Linked DNA regions of Homo sapiens: regions 2, 3, 4 and 5 are each linked to region 1. The links are contacts of gene promoters, found by promoter capture Hi-C in human tissues and cell types (Jung and others, 2019). All regions are on one chromosome and are shown on one strand. The core of a region is centred on a gene start or on the middle of the fragment in contact, and the rest is flanking DNA. Distances in the headings are between cores, read along the strand shown. Region 1 holds the start of CST5 (cystatin D). Region 2 overlaps LOC101926889 (a long non-coding RNA gene). Region 3 has its middle 32 kb from the start of ENTPD6. Region 4 overlaps APMAP (adipocyte plasma membrane associated protein). Region 5 overlaps CST7 (cystatin F).

The links. Contacts are between HindIII fragments. The study calls those that stand out against the background at their distance.
Region 2: a fragment that was not itself captured here is called in contact with the fragment with the promoter of CST5 in region 1 in 1 of the 25 tissues and cell types used here (dorsolateral prefrontal cortex).
Region 3: a fragment that was not itself captured here is called in contact with the fragment with the promoter of CST5 in region 1 in 1 of the 25 tissues and cell types used here (dorsolateral prefrontal cortex).
Region 4: a contact is called between a fragment that was not itself captured here and the fragment with the promoter of CST5 in region 1, in 1 of the 25 tissues and cell types used here (dorsolateral prefrontal cortex).
Region 5: a fragment that was not itself captured here is called in contact with the fragment with the promoter of CST5 in region 1 in 1 of the 25 tissues and cell types used here (dorsolateral prefrontal cortex).

What each region holds. Positions count from the first base shown.
Region 1 is chr20:23,878,248-23,881,441 of GRCh38, forward strand. CST5 (cystatin D) reads right to left here and starts at 1,501. Exons shown (of 3, transcript NM_001900.5): 1 at 1,199-1,501. The coding sequence starts at 1,429. RefSeq lists an enhancer at 994-1,823. The HindIII fragment of the contact is 5,935 bases long and covers 1-3,194 here.
Region 2 is chr20:25,186,266-25,189,459 of GRCh38, forward strand. It overlaps LOC101926889 (a long non-coding RNA gene), which reads right to left. Exons shown (of 6, transcript NR_109994.1): 3 at 1,588-1,682; 4 at 632-714; 5 at 277-434. Among named protein-coding and RNA genes, the nearest start is that of ENTPD6, 7.8 kb to the right of the region's middle. The HindIII fragment of the contact is 6,552 bases long and covers 1-3,194 here.
Region 3 is chr20:25,161,927-25,165,120 of GRCh38, forward strand. It overlaps the pseudogene NIPAL1P1. Among named protein-coding and RNA genes, the nearest start is that of ENTPD6, 32 kb to the right of the region's middle. The HindIII fragment of the contact is 4,276 bases long and covers 1-3,194 here.
Region 4 is chr20:24,985,788-24,988,981 of GRCh38, forward strand. All of the region lies in intron 1 of APMAP (adipocyte plasma membrane associated protein), which reads right to left. Among named protein-coding and RNA genes, the nearest start is that of APMAP, 5.4 kb to the right of the region's middle. The HindIII fragment of the contact is 6,757 bases long and covers 1-3,194 here.
Region 5 is chr20:24,956,239-24,959,432 of GRCh38, forward strand. It overlaps CST7 (cystatin F), which reads left to right. Exons shown (of 4, transcript NM_003650.4): 2 at 1,049-1,221; 3 at 2,690-2,806. Among named protein-coding and RNA genes, the nearest start is that of CST7, 8.6 kb to the left of the region's middle. The HindIII fragment of the contact is 6,257 bases long and covers 1-3,194 here.

The DNA of each region.
Region 1 (3,194 bases), core at 251-2,750:
ATTGCCTCCTGCATGCCTCCATTCCAGGTGTGATTTTCAAGGCAATATTTCTAAAGTGAGTCACACACCTGCATGTCTTAGGGTTGCAACTTCAGAAGAGAACTGAATGCTTTCCCTGCACAGTGCCGCCCCAAAACATGACTTGTCAGAACTGTGGAGAAGCATGGGATGAGGGACCCTGGGACCAGGGTGCTAGACCTTGCCCTGTGGAACCACACACAAGTCCTGTAGAACCACATGGAAGTCCTGTGATCCCTCCGGTGTCAGTCTGCTGCTCTGTAAAATAGGCTCCAGGGCCCAACGATCTACATCATTCTGTGCTTCACTCCCAGTGAGTGACACACTTAAGAGGGAGTGCAGGCCAGCAGGGACCACAGCACCAGGGAATGCCCCTCCTGTGCAGGGAGAGGGCTGCAGGAGGAGAAACAGGGCTGGTCTGGACTCCTCTGACTTTCCAAGAGAAGGTGGAGGAGCTCTAAAGGCTGGCAGGCCATATAGCCCTGTGGTCGCTGTGTCACTGCTGCTCTGCCATGGGACGTAGGTCAAGCTGGGCTCGGTAGCCCTGCTGAAGCTTCCTCCCTCTGGACCCAACCACCTCCTTCACTCTGCTGGGTGATTGCTGTCCTCATTTTGCTGAGGTCTAACTCTGCGTTAGCTGGCAGAGGCAGGGTCAGGCATGCTCTACCCCAGCAGGAACTCAGCTGTCCTGGGCTGTAGGGGGTGGTCAGCCAGCCTGAGAGTGAAGGCCACTAGCCATAACGGGCTGTGCCCAGGGGCGTGACTTGGGAGGGAAGCGGGGCTATCCAGGACAAGGAGTCAGGTTCCCGTGTGGCCCCTGTGGAGAGGACTCAGGGAGGAAGATGAACCTCGTGGCCTGGATCTCATCCTGAGCAGCATCAAGCCCACCCAGAGTCAGCACAGTCTCCATCCACACCTGCTGGACCCTGGGAAATGCCACAGTCATGGTACAGACACAGTGGCTGCTGCAGGTTAAAAGAGGCCGAGGGGACAGGACAGGGCTGAACTCATGCACTCACGGCCAAGGAGTGTCCTAGGGCATGAAGACCATCAGCAGACAGTCAGAGAAAGCTGAATGAGTCTGCGGTTTAGATAATGTTGATTTGCTGGGAGTGCTCTGGGGGGTGAGGCAAAAAACCCAGCTGGGACTCAGGACCCCCAGGGTGGTGGTAGCACGCACCTGCTGGTAGGCAGCCATCACCTGCAGAGGGCGGCTGTAGTACTCATCCTTATTAATGACCTTGTTGTACTCGCTGATGGCAAAGTCCAGGGCACACTGCACACTCTTGTCATTGAGGTCTGTGGCATGGATGCCACCTGCCAAGGTCCTAGATTGGGCCGAGGCACTCCCGGCCACGGCCACCATCAAGGCAGTCAGCAGCAGCAGTGGGGTGTGCATGGGCCACATCATGTTCTACTGGGACACAGAGCAAGGAGCTGGATCTCCCAGAGAGCAAAGCAGCAGAAGGCTGAGGCAGGAAGCCCAGGCCAGAAGCTAGCTGTGCATTTATCCTACTTGGGTGTCCCCCAACCCCACCTGCTCCCTGGCCCCGCCCCTGGCTCCTCCTCCTCTTTCTACCCCTCCTCTTCTGTCTCTATCTCCCTTTCCACCCCCAACCACCTCCCTCCCTCCCTAAGTTCCCTTCGCTCCTCCCATGCCTCCTCCTCATCCTCCTCCCCACTCCTGTCCTGACCGCAACCTCCCCACAGCCCTGCCCCTCTTCCTCAGTGCTCTAAAGCTTGGCTCACTCTGGATTCCAGAGAGGTGACACCGCTCCCTGGGCTGTGAAACCTGGTGACCACCTATGTCCACAGGAAAGGGAGAAATACAGGGCTTGGCCTTCTAAAGTCTTCAGATGTCAGGGGCATCCAGGAGCACGTGGTCATGGTCTGGGAATTCCTGGGGCAGGGAGCTGTTTCAGAAGCTCCGGGATGACCTTGTCCATGCCCTCTTCTGGGGAACTTCTTTGCCAAACATAAAGTAATTAACCTTTGGGTAAAGTTCACTGGGTTCTCGTTTCATAACTCCTCATTATTCAATAAACAAACCTGTCACCAGCTTCCCCCTGCACCAAGCAGTCTGGGCAATAGAGCCGTAGACATGAACTTGCAGAGCTGCCATCCAACAGAGATGTGACAGAAACCCAGGAGCAATTTAAAACACATTTGAAAAAGTTAAAAGATACAGCTGAAAGTAATTTTGGTATTTCTACTTTAACCTAATATATCCAAAATACTTCAACACTTCAGGACTATTCTTAAGGAGCTAGTTTACATTCTTTTGTGTGAGTGTAATGTCTTGAAGTTCCCTGTGTATTTTTTACAGTTAGACCAAGCGTCACTGTGGACTAGCCCCATTTCAAGTGCCCTGTGGCCACGAGTGGCTGCTGGTGGCTGTGGTACTGCATAGCCCAGCCATTAGGGTGTGTGGGAGGATGCAGAGTGGTGATCAACAATTTAGATCAGGGAATTATAGTCGCTCAGTTAGAGAGAGGGTGGGTGCTACTGGACCCTGGTCAGGGAAGTCTCTAAGAGACCGGAAAGGTTGAGAAGCCCCAGGCAGCAGGGAATAGTCAGTGCAAAGGCCCTGAGGCAAGGCTGGGCATGCCTGCTCCAGGAAGAGGAAGCTCCTGGAGGGGGTGTGAGCAGGGAAGGGAACGACCTGGAGTCTCACGGTAACTGTGGGTGTGTCCAGGTGGAAGGCGCAGGGAGACCCCTGGCAGGTGGTGGGGGTGTCAGGAGAAGGAGCAGCAGCCACAGGATGAATGTGGGAGCCCAAGAGCCTCTCTTGCTCCTCCCCTCTGGGAGACGTGCTGCCAGCACTGGTCCTCTGTACACTGCTTGGAAAACTCATGTAATATTTTAAAAATTACATTGAATGAGGTAGAATTTACACACAATAAAATGCCTAATTGTATGTGCCCAATCTGGGGGATTTCATAAATGCATACACTTGTGTTACCACTTTGTCCACACCTGTGATATCTGCCTCACCCCAGATGGTTTCCTCCTGCCTCTGAAGCCCACCCTCATGCCCACCCGACCCTGGCAGCCCACATCTGGTCCTGTGGACTCCTTTGTTGCCTGTCCTTGAGCTTCCCAGGAATGGAATCCTGCAGAGAGAGCCCAGGTGTGTCTTCGTCCTTTGCTCAGCGTGGCTTCATTGCCAGGATTGA
Region 2 (3,194 bases), core at 471-2,970, 1.3 Mb after region 1:
CCTACTGGGAGATGTCTCCCAGTCAGGCTACACGGGGGTGAGAGACCCACTTGAGGAGTCAGTCTGTTCATTCTCAGAGCTCAAACACCATGCTGGGAGAACCACTGCTCTCTTCAGAGCTGTCAGACAGGGATGTTTAAGTCTGCAGAAGTTTCTGCTGCCTTTTGTTCTGCTATGCCCTGCCCCCAGCAGTAGAGACTACAAAGGCAGCAGGCCTTGCTGAGCTGCAGTGGGCTCTGCCCAGTTCAAGCTTCCCCAGCCGCTTTGTTTACCTACTCAAGCTGCAGCAATGGCAGACGCCCCTTCCCCTGCTAGGCTGCTGCCTCACAGGTTGATCTCAGACTGCTGCACTAGCAGTGAGCAAGACTCCATAGGCGTGGGATCCACCGAGCCATGTGCGGGATATAATCTCCTGGTGTGCCATTTGCTAAGACCTTTGGAAAAGCACAGTATTTGGGGGAGAGTGTCCCGTTTTTCCAGGTACAGTCTGTCACGGCTTCCTTTGGCTAGGAAAGGGAAATCCCCCAACCCCTTGTTGTTCCCAGGTGAGGCAATGCCCCACCCTGCTTTGGCTCGCCCTCTGTGGGCTGCACCCACTGTCCAACCAGTCCCAATGAGAAGAACCAGGTACCTCAGTTGGAAATGCAGAAATCACCCATCTTCTGCGTGGATCATGCTGGGAGCTGCAGACTGGAGCTATTCTTATCTGGCCATCTTGGAATGGAGAGAGCAAAAATATTTCTAAATAACACATGGACAGAGAAACACTGTAATAGTGGACTTTAGAAAATGTTCCAAACTGACAATTACAAAAATACAATACAGCCAAATGTGTGGGACAGAGCTACAAGGGTGCTTATAGGAAATGCAAAGCTCTAACTGCATTTCTTATAAGATAGGCTGAAAGTTGACTTCGAGTAAGACAGCAGCACATAGCTCCCACTGGGCAGCCTGGCTTGGGGCTCCCTAGTAGGGATGGTTTTTGAGGGGGACCTTGTCATAGTTCTGGGGTCATGTGGAGGACACTCTGGTGTTACTGTTTCCAGTGCACCAAGGGTGAGTGTCTTCTGGTTACCTAGCTACCTTGGCCCAAGCATTCTGGAGCCTGGGAGACTGGGAGCCAGGAGATAGGTGGGAGGAGGGGCAGGCCCCAGGTAATAGGAGAGCAGGGCTAAGGAACAAAGATAGCCAGCCTGAGGCAGCTCCCTCAGCCTCTGTGCTGAGAAATCTCGTACTCCACTTCTCCGCCCTGAGAAAGCTTGCTGTCTGGAATCCTGTCGCCTGCAGATGCTCAGCCATGCAGGCCACTCCACACAGAGAAGCAGCCTGGAGCTCTCACCTTGGCTCACAGCCTCAGATAAGGGGCTTCCAGATACAACATGGTGCATTTGTCTTGAGCTCGGGCCCCCAAGTCAGCCTCTCAGCCCAGTGTGATGTGTCACCCTGTGACCCACAGCCCTGCTTTCAGCCTGTCAGAAACGGCTTCATTTTAAACTTCACCTGAACTCCTCCCTTCTCCGCAATCCTGTCTATCCCATGCTGAAGGCAGGAGGCCTCTGATGTGGCTTCCTCGCTGCAGTTACTAACCCTCACTTTGTCGTGGACAGCTGTGCCCTGGCGCCATTCACTGAAGGGGCTTTATCAGTCTTCAGAAACACCCTTCCTGAGCGTGAGGTGCTGGGCTGTAAAATATACATACATTCTTTAAAAAGGCAAATGCTTGATGATACAGTGCTATTTGGACTTCATTTTTTTGAACCTTTGCAATGCCCTTTCTCAACAAAACAAAACAAAATTTGACTTGGATTCTTAGATAATGGAATTGGCTGCAGGAAGCATTTGTTTTATCACCCCTTGAATGTTAACAATAACCCTGAGAGAGCTATCTGTACTGAGCATGAAGGAAATAATATATACAGTGGTCCATTTCCAAGACAAAGTGCCTTGAATTGGTTTAGGTCAGCAAACTACAGAAGAAACAGGATACACTAGGCCCCTGCTTGGATAGCCAATGCCTGCTTGTCGCCTCCCCACCCTCCACCCTACCCCACTGCCTTAGTTGCCCTCACCCAAACCAAAGGAGTTTAGTCTAAGATGAAAGTTTACTAGCTTGCAAAATAGCTCACTTTGTCTGTTCTTATCAGCCTGCCCAGATACTTAGGTCATAAGTCAAGTACTTGAAGAGCCCTTGAGCTAACTAGGATTGCAATGTATTATGGCTGCAACAAAATGCAGCAGAACAATCCTAAAGAAAATGCCTAAAACCCCTACCCAACAACCAATAGGCAATGTCCAGGAAGACTGTGACCCCATAGTACTCAGCCTATGAGGAACCAAGGGAGGGACCTGCACACTAGGGGATAAATTGCTTTTGAAACTGTACTGGGTGTGCCTGCCCATCAGACACCCGATCTTGCAAGATTGTCATTAAAGTCTCGCTTCCACTGTTCTCTGGGTCTCTGAGCCCAAACTTTGGGTTTGGACCAGTGAGTTTGTTTCTCACAGCATGACCTACTCTCCACCATGATGTGCAGCATTGCAGTGAGCAGAGAACAGCCTCCCTTCCCACTCACCCACCTGCCTCTTGGTTAGACATAAGTTCTCTTGTAACTTCTTTTGCTTCATTTATTTTAAATAAGAATAATAAAGTTTTAGTCTTTAATTTAAAAAAAGAAGATAGGCTAAAAATTAATATGTGTTCAGCTTAAACTAGAAAATTTTAAAAAACAACACACTCTAAGTACAAAGAAAGAAATAATAAAGATGAAATAAATTTAAAAATATTAAACAAAGATACAGAGGAGTTCCACAAAGCCAAAAGTTAGCTCTTGGGGAAGAGAAGTAATAAAACTTAGGCATTTCTGGAGATGCTGACCAAGAAAAAAAGGAAAATTTACAAATTAATTATTATGAGTGAAATGGAGGCTATCGCTGCAAATGCTAAGAAGATGTGAATAATGTTATACCAGTAACACTGAAAACTTAGGTGAAATGTGATGATTCCTTTAGAAAGATGCCAAAACTGCCTGCGAAAGAAGTAGAAAGCTTGATTAGAAATAGAATCAGCAGTTTAAAATATTTCACACAGAAAACAGAAATATTCCATCAAATATTCAAGAAATAGAAACTTCAAAACTTAAACCCATTTAGAAGATTTAAAGGCAGAAAATCTCCAACTCATTCTGTAAGGCTAA
Region 3 (3,194 bases), core at 241-2,740, 1.3 Mb after region 1:
CTCCTGCTCCCATGGCCAGCACTCCTGTCCCCCAGAGCCATCCTTCAGGTCAGAATGTCCACCTTGTCCAGCTCCAGTGATGCTTTTGTTGGCCAGTTGCAAAAGACCCTTCTTTTTCAATATGAAGCTGGAGCCATATCCTTCTCGGCAGGGCTCTCTGTGCCACAGCCTCACATGTGCCCCCATGTCCCCAGACGGGGCTCCAGGATGCAGACGCTCTTTCCTCAGCCACCTGGGCCTCTCCTCCCCATGGACCTGCCAGATTGTTGTTAATTCTTTTTTTAAAGAAAACCACTCTATTGAGGTAAAATGAACATACAAAAAGCTGTATATATTTAATGTATACATTTCGATAAGTTTGGGGATACGTATGTACCTGTGAAATCATCACCACCATCAAGGCCATAAACACATCCATCACCTCCCAAAGTTTTCTCCCACCCCTTTATTATTATTATTATTATTATTATTATTATTATTATTATTATTGAGACAGTCTTGCTCTGTCACACACGCTGGAGTGCAGTGGCACGATCATGGCTCACTGCAACCTCTGCCTCCCAGGCTCAAGTGATCCTCCCACAGCAGCCTCCTGAGCAGCTGGGATCACAGGCACAGGCCACTATGCCCAGCTAATTTTTGTATTTTTAGTAGAGACACGGTTTCACCATGTTGGCCAGGATGGTCTCAAACTCCTGACCTCAAGTGATCCACCTACCTTGGCCTCCCAAAGTGCTGGGATTACAGCTGTGAACCACTGCACCCAGCCCCTTTATTATTTGTATTTGGATTTTGTTTTCATCACTGTTTTGATAATAACACTTACCATAAGATCAACTTGCCTTAGTAAATTTTAGGTATACAATGCAGTATTGTTACCTATAGGCATCATGCCACACAAATCTCCAGAGCTCATTCATCCTGGATAACTGAAGCTTCGTACCTTCTGATCATCATCTCCTCATTTCCCCCTCCCCACAGCCCATGAAAACCACCATTCTACTCTCTGCTTTTGAGTTTGATTATTTTAGAGTCCACATTGCTATGGTTTGAATGATGGCATCCCCTCCAAAATTTATGTTGAAGCCATCCCCAGTGCAGTAGTATTAAGAGGTATGGTCTTTGGGATGTGATTAAGTCATGAGGGCTCTACTTTTATGGATGGGATTAGCACCCTTATTAAAAGGCTCAAGGTCAAAAGGAGTGCTCTTTCACCCTTCTATCTTCCTCCATGTGAGGACACATGCATCCCTCTGGAGGAAGCAGCAACAAGACACCATCTTGGAAGCAGGGAGCAGCCTTCATCAGACACCAATGCTAGTGTCTTGATCTTGGACTTCCCAGCCTCCAGAAACATAAGAAATAAATTTTTGTTGCTTATAAGTTACCCAGTCCCAGATATTTTGTTATAGCAGCACAAATGGACTAAGATACATCCATAAATGAGATCCTGCCGCATTTGTCTTTCTGTGCCTGGCTTACTTTGCTTAACATAATGTCCTCTGGGTCAATCTATGTTGTCACAAATGGCAGGATTTCCTTCTTTTTAAGGACTAAATAATATTCCTTTGCATGTGTATACTATAATTTCTTTTTATTAAGTGAAATCAAGTCTATTAAGGAAGTAAAGGAATATAAGAATGGCTACTCCATAGGCAGAGCAGCCCTGAGGCTGCTGGTTGGCTGTTTTTATGGTTATTTCCTGATTATAGGCTAAACAAGGGATGGATTATTCATGAGTTTTTGAGGAAAGGGGTGGGCAATTACCAGAACTGAGGGTTCCTCCCGTTTTTAGACCATATAGGGAAACTTCCTGACATTGTCATGGCATTTATAAACTGTTGTGGTGTTGGTGGGATGTCTCTTAGCATGCTAACACATTATAATTAGTGTATAATGAGCCAGAGGTCACTTTCATTGCCCTCTTGGTTTTGGTAGGTTTTGGCCAGCTTCTTTACTGCACTCTTTTATCAGCAAAGTTTTTGTAACCTGTATCTTGTGCCAACCCCCTATCTCATCCTGTGACTTAGAATGCCCCACCTCCTGGGAATGCAGCTCCATGGGTCTCAGCCTTATTTTACCCAACCCCTATTCAAGATTGAGTTGCTCTGGTTCAAACACCTCTGGCATATTTCCCCCCTCCCTTTTACAAGGGAACCTTTAATCCTAAAGGCTGTAAGCAGATGAAGATCTATCTTCTTTAACTTCTTCAGGCTGAATAGGGGCAATGATATTCCTGCCTAACTATTAGGGCATCTCATACCCAGGGTAGAGAGGAGCTGAGTCAGAAAGCATCGGTATGGTGAAAAACAGTTCAAAAACAACTGATAAGACTAGAATCTGATAACAAGTGTACCACAGTTTTTGAAACATAATTTTTCTCTCCCCTGTCTCACATTTTTACTAAAGACAAATCATGGTAGAATGAATTTGTTTGCAAAAATAAGCTTTAGTCTTATACTTGGCCAGATTATTTGTAAAGTGCAGCAAGAATAATTTTCACATAGGCTTTTTTAATTGGCTTTGATGGAACATTGTTCCATAAAATGAATCTCAGATAAGACTTTTTACGAAGCCAAGCGCAGCCTTGAGTTTGTACCCTCAAATACCTATAAGTTGGGAAATTCCTTTTCTCTTGTGGTCACAAGGTAATTTGGGGCTCCTGGGCCTGTTAGAAAGTGACATACTTGGCCAGGCATGGTGGCTCATGCCTGTAATCCCAGCACTTTGGGACGCCAAGGAAGGCACATCATGAGGTCAGGAGTTTGAGACCAGCCTGGCCAATATGGTGAAACCCTATCTCTACTAAAAATACAAAAATTAGTTGGGCATGGTGGTGTGCACCTGTAGTCCCAGCTACTTGGGAGGCTGAAAGAGCAGAATCGCTTGAACCTGGGAGGCAGAGGTTGCAGTGAGCTGATATTGCACCACTGCACTCCAGGCTGGGTGACAGAGTGAGACTCCATCTCAAAAAAAAAAATAGTGACATTCTTTACTTACCACAGGTTGGAAACCCTGTACAGGGACTATGCAGACAATGTATGAGGCCAATTTTCCAAGGGGCTTTTATTGGCTCTATAAGTCAATTTTGATTCTTAAAAGGAAAACATGCCATTCCAGTCAAAGCCTTGGTAAATTAAGTAGTTTCTCCAATTGCATCCTGTTACAAAAGAAAACAGATTATTATTGCACTT
Region 4 (3,194 bases), core at 516-3,015, 1.1 Mb after region 1:
GACTCTACTTGTGAGGTCTCAGAAGGAAGAGGGGAGCATAGCAGGAAAAAAAACCATTGCCTGGGAGAACACCTAACTGGGCACGAACACTGCTGGCACTGCTGGGGAGGGTGCAGAAGGATGTCACGAGCATGGGATTGGAAACTGGAGCAAAGTGGATCCTGTAACACAGTGGTAGAAAGCTTGGCTGAATCGCGTCCTGCAGTTATGTGAAAAGCAGAGCTTCTAAACACTGAAACTGGACCCAGCTGAGGACATTTCCCAGCACAGTGTTGAAGGCAAGGCCCGGTTTCTCCTGCTGCTTCCTCCTCCAGAGCAGGACAGGCCCGAGGGCAGTGTTAACCACTGCCTTCTTCCTTTGCCATTTCCCTTTGCTGATGAGAATTCTGTGTCTATTTTTCTTCTAATAATCTTCCAAAAATGAATTTTGTCCCTAACTTCCTCCCCTTCACTCATAAGGGGTTCAGAGCTCACCCCGTACACCTGAGGCCAGGTAAAATGCCACATTGCCAGTCCTTACCCCTTTTATTAGGTGGGAAAGGAGGTGGTCCAGACCCTACAAACACAAACAAAATGCCACAGACACACCAGGGAGAGGCCAAGGGAGCCCAGCTCCTGGAAGAGGGCAGGTGAGAATGAAGGGGAAAGTCAGGTCAACCTCTCCCTCCCAGTCCTGTCTCCAAACCCCAGGACCAAATAATCTTCTTCTAATGTGACTGACTTATACCAGTCATGGGTATAAGCACCACAGGCATAAAAATGTCTACAAAGCACAGAACTACGACCTGACATGACGGCAGGCTCATGCAACCTGAGAGGTCTGCAGCAGGGAAAGGAGTAAGGGCCAGGAAAAGAGGAATGGCAAACAGTCCAAATGAGAGTATGCCAAGAAATGTGCTTTACGTGGGCAACCAGATGGAACCAGGTATCTCTCTCCTTCACAAATGAGGGAAGTGGGCAGGGAAAGGCTCAAGTGGCTTTCCCACAGCCAATGCAAGAGCTGGAAAAGCGCAACTGAGAGCCAGATGTGACTCTATGGCTGCGGTCACCATTAGAAGCGCTGCCTGCCAAGAGCAAGAGGAGGGAGTGGAGGATGCCCAGACCTAGAGCCCTCAGAGCGGGAGTTTGAAAGCTCTGTGAAAATTCATGGTGATCTGCCTATTCTAGGCATTTCATATAAGTGGAATCATACAACAAGTGACCTTTCATGACTAGCTTCTTTCATTCAGTGTGTTTTCTAGGCCCATCTAAGTTGCAGTATGTATCTGTACATGGTTCCTTTTACCAGTTGATTATGTATGTATCTACCACAACTTGCTGCCCACTCATCTGGTTTTTTGTTTTTTAAATATAAAGACACGGTCTCAGTATGTCAACCAGGCTGGAGTACAGTGGCATGATCATATCTCACTGTTATCTCAAATTCCTGGGCTCAAGTGATCCTCCTGTCTCAGCCTCCCAAAGTAGCTAGGACTACAGGTGTGCACCACCACACGTGGCTAATTGTTTTACTTTCTGTAGAGAAAACATCTTGCTACATTGTCCAGGCTGGTCTTGAACTTCTGGCCTCAAGCAGTCTTCCCACCTTAGCCTTCCAAAGTGCACCCTGAGATGAGCAGGCATGAGCAACCATGTCTAGCCCCACTCATCTGCTGAACATTTGTGTGGGAGGGGGAAATGGGAGTGATTACTTAATCAGTACAAGGTAAACACCTTGCTTTTATGGGGTGATGAAACAGTTTTGAAAGCAGAGAGAGTTGGTGGTTGCCCAACATTGTGAATACACTAAATATCACTGAACTGTGCACTTTAAAGTGGTTAATTGTATGTTATGCGAATTTCACCTCAACTAAAAAAAAAAGTTGACAGTGACAAGAATGTTCTAAACTTGGATTGCGGTAATTACTGCAAAACTGGCCATTATACTAAAAATCACTGATTTGAACATTTTAAGTAGGTTAATTTTATGGTATGTGAATTACATCTCAATAAAGATGTTAAAAAAAAACAAAAACAAAACAAAGTCAGTGACTCCACCATGCAAACTGCCACTCCAATGGCTAGGACACCCTTCAACCCAAGTGATTTTCTTTAAGTGACCTAAAGTCTTCCAACACAATAGAAATGAAGTACTTGTACAATAAAGCAGGGCTGGTTACAAGTAAATGACAGAAACGCTTCTGACAGTGTGAACCCCAAAGAGAGACAAAGCATATGGAAAGGTGGATGGTGAAGATGTGTGGCTGCCAGCCCTGAGAGCTGCCCTCACTGCACTCTGGTACTGAGTCCAACAGGGACTGCCTGCCTTAAAGGAAGCTGATGCCATCACCCACCCCACTCCCAGGAGAGAAGAGTCCCTCTAGGGAAGGTACATTGTGTTTTCACCTCATGACCTTCATTATAAACAGTAACAATCTTGCCAAAACGCTACTTTTTCCTTGCCTAACATCATTCTACCTAAGGCAGATTTTCCTCATCTGTCTTGACTCCAACATTGTGACCTCTACTTTACCACACTGCAGCTTATATTTTTAAAATCTTGATGTGGTAATCTGATTCAGAGCTGGTGGCACCCCATTTAAATACCTGGTTGCCCCTTCACACAATAGTTAGAGGCTCAATTATGTCCCAAACAAAAAGTCCAGCCAGGACTGAAAGCCACGGGGCTTACAGCCAGAAAGGAGGCCAAAAGTCCATTGACAAAGATTTGTGTCCCAATGCTGCGGGATCTACCATACCAGTAACACTCTCCTAAAGCTGGAGAAGAATTTAGAGGCCACTCAGTCTACTGTTCCCAAAGGCAGCCAACTCCTGGATGGGCTACATCAAGATGACCTGGGCCAGAGATTCTGCTTTGGTAGGTACAGGGTGGGCCTGCGAACTCTTTCATCGGTTGTTCCTCATGTGCAGCTGGACACCACTAACTCTATGCAGCTCCCTTCCCAGTCAGACTTCACCAACACCTCCTCAACCTCACCTGATCAGCATCCAGCCTCCACTGGAAAGTTCTGTGGTCACGTATTAGAAATACTAGCTTAAATTTAAACAAAACTCCTTGAGCTGCACTGTCCAATAGAACTTTCTGCAACGATGGAAATACAATAGCTACTAGCCATGTGTGGTTCCTGAGCACTTGAAATGGAGTTAGCTTGTTATATAAATGAGGTAAGCACAGCTCCTGGACCCCTGCTCTG
Region 5 (3,194 bases), core at 664-3,163, 1.1 Mb after region 1:
AGGCCTCTTGCAGACCTCACACAGCAGTGGGAATGGCCTCCTCTGGGGCCCTCGCTCTGAGTTGACACTGACGTCCTGGCAAGGCCTCCCTGCAGTGCCCAGCTATGAAGCCTGTCCCCTCCCATTCCCCAATCACCCTGCCCTCAACACCCTGGGGCCCAGCTTTCCATCCAGTCCATAGCAGGCACAAAGACGCACGTCCTGCAGCCTCAGGCACAGATACTAGGGGACATGACTGTGGGGGAGGCCCCCGATGCTGCTTCCCCATCTTTTATCCAAATATAGCCCTCCTTGGTACAGGAAGGGCAGGCCTCCCCGACCCCAACGAAGCTTGGGGACACAGTGCACTGTCACTCATAGGAGTGAAAAAGACTGTCCCTGGAAAGTCAGGAGGCAGCGCAGGGGTACCAAGTGCTGCAGGCTGCCAGGAGGGGTGCCCTCCTGGGGGCTGGGCCTGAGACTGAGAGCCAGGCGGGCAAAAGGTCTTGAGACGAGGACGGCGCCATCTCCTTCCGGTGGGAGGCACTACCTCCATCTACCGCCCAGAGGGCCAGGCTGGGGTTGACTTTCCCTACATCCTAAGGCTACATCCCGTACTGAGGATCTCACCTGTGGGACATGTTCCGCTTTTAACACTTACGTTGGAAATAACCCTGGGTTCTGAAAGTGGGGGACAGGTTCATTGCACCCCCTGGCACCTGGTCCTCAGCTCTGAAAATGGAGCAATAAATGCACTGCAGGGGTGTCGGGGGGGACAGGTGAGGGGGCAGGTGAGGGGGGCAGGTGAGGGGAGCAGGTGAGAGGGGGCAGGTGAGGGAGAACAGGTGAGGGGGCAGGTGAGGGGGGCAGGTTAGGGGTGGGTAGGGTGGGGGCAGGTAAGCAGGGACAGGTGACAGGGGTAGGTAAGAGGGGGAGCAGGTGAGGGGTGGGTAGGGCCAGGACACACACGCCAGCAGAGAACTGAGCATCACAGAGGCATGAGGCGTGACACCTGGACTGAAGGCCCCACTAACATCAGTGTTCTTGTCTGGCTCTTTGTCTCTTTCAGATACTTGTTCCCAGGACCTTAACTCACGTGTGAAGCCAGGATTTCCTAAAACAATAAAGACCAATGACCCAGGAGTCCTCCAAGCAGCCAGATACAGTGTTGAAAAGTTCAACAACTGCACGAACGACATGTTCTTGTTCAAGGAGTCCCGCATCACAAGGGCCCTAGTTCAGGTAACGGTCTGGGTTCTGGTCACATATCACGGACACCCCTAGGAAGCCGAGCTGCTACAACGCGACACCTAGGAGAGCAGGGCGGATATAATGTGAAGTCCCTGCTGAGTGCAGAGCTCTGAGCAGAAAGCAGATGCACAAGGGGTGGGAGTGGACAGCAGCAGCTGAGGCCAGCATCCCCCAGGGCCAAGCGCAAAGGTTACACAAAGCACACGGCTCCTGGGTGGTTACCAGGCCCCTGGCCCAGAGCCTACTAGGCATGGGGTAAGGAGGTGCCAGGGCCCTAATGGGGCTCCTGAGGCAGGCGCCAAGGCTGATGGGGGAGAAAGCCGCTGTCCGAGGAGCTGCCCCTGCTGGGACCAGGGTCCTCACCCGGCCTCACCCCTCACGTGCCCTGCAGCCCAGAGGTGTCTTTGCCACTTTCCCCCTGGAGTGCTCACTCACATCCCAGAGTCCAAGAGCTCTGCCCAAGCCACTGCCCTTTCCCTGACTCATTCCTACTGCGCCCGCTCAGCACCCTCCCTCCTAGAGGACCCTTGTCTGTGTCCTGAGAACACCCACTTGCTAATGTGGGATGCAGGCTGTGGATGACACCCACCACCGTGTGCTGGTGCCTGTAAGGGGCAGAAGCAGCCCTGTCCAAGGCAGTCTTCACAGTGTTCATGGTTATGCTGGGTCACAGGGAGGGGTGATTTTTATAACCTAATTATTTTTGACAATTGCAAACTTGTGAAGGACAGCATGTTTTCATATGAGAATCGTGGGTGTGTAGCCAGGGTCCTCGCTCTGCAGCCTGGCCTCAGGGACAGGGGATCTTCCCTGGGTGATGCAGGCCCTCCCTCCTTCTCCGGGTAGGCCAGTGGGATGCCCTGGTTCTGAGTCCTTGGGGTTCTCTGGGAGGGGACTTGGAGGTTGTCTCTCTCTAGCTTGGTGATATTGGGGACAACGTAATTCCCCTAAAGCTGAGACTAAAACCTGAGGAATTTTTCTTCAACTCCTCTAAGACCACAAATGAGAATGAACAAGGCGGCTGCCATATCCAAGTGGAGAAGGGCTGTCCAGAAACTCAAAACTCCCGACCCCAGGAATGGAGAGGGGAAGCCCGCAGACCCCAGGCCTGACACAGAGGCCACAAGAAACAGCCATCATGGGGCTGGAGTGAGGGCTGCAGGGCGGGCCCAGCAGGGCATGCAGGAGACCTAGTGTGACGTCCCTCCTGAGTGCAGAGCTCTGGCCAGAAAGGAGACATCTGTCTCAGGAAGGGGCACAAACCCAGCACGGGGCAGGGAGGGGAGTGGGAGGGGTCTGCAGGCTCTGCCGTAAGCCCGAAGCATTGCCCCAAGATGCTGGCCCACTTCCCTTCTCCTCGGTGGGCACCTGCACCACTGTCTTGAGGCCCTGCTTCCTAGTGGAGAAGCCTGCCCTCCCTCCCCTGTGCCCAGTAACCCAGTCCCTTTGCTCCCTCCAGATAGTGAAAGGCCTGAAATATATGCTGGAGGTGGAAATTGGCAGAACTACCTGCAAGAAAAACCAGCACCTGCGTCTGGATGACTGTGACTTCCAAACCAACCACACCTTGAAGCAGGTAAAGCAGCAGGCCCTTCTCTCAGATGTGCCCTCTCTTCCCCAGCCCACTCCCTCCCAGGACTGTGAAAAACACCGTCACCACGTCTCTAACGCAGCGCCCCAAACCTCACCCCTGAGGAAGCCAGGCCTCCCAGACTCCCGCACGACTGAGGATCCGGGAGAACAGGAGGTAGAGCCTGTGCCAGGAGCTCCTCAGATGACATCCTCCCGTCCCAGAGGCGGAGACACAGCTCTGGAAGAGCGTCCTGGGGTGCGAGTGGAGAGGGTTAGAGTAAGAAAAGCTTTCAAACAATCCAGAAATTATATATGTATCATATACATACATATGATATGTATCATATGTATATCATATATAGCATATCTCTGCAGAGAGAGCAAGAGAACGG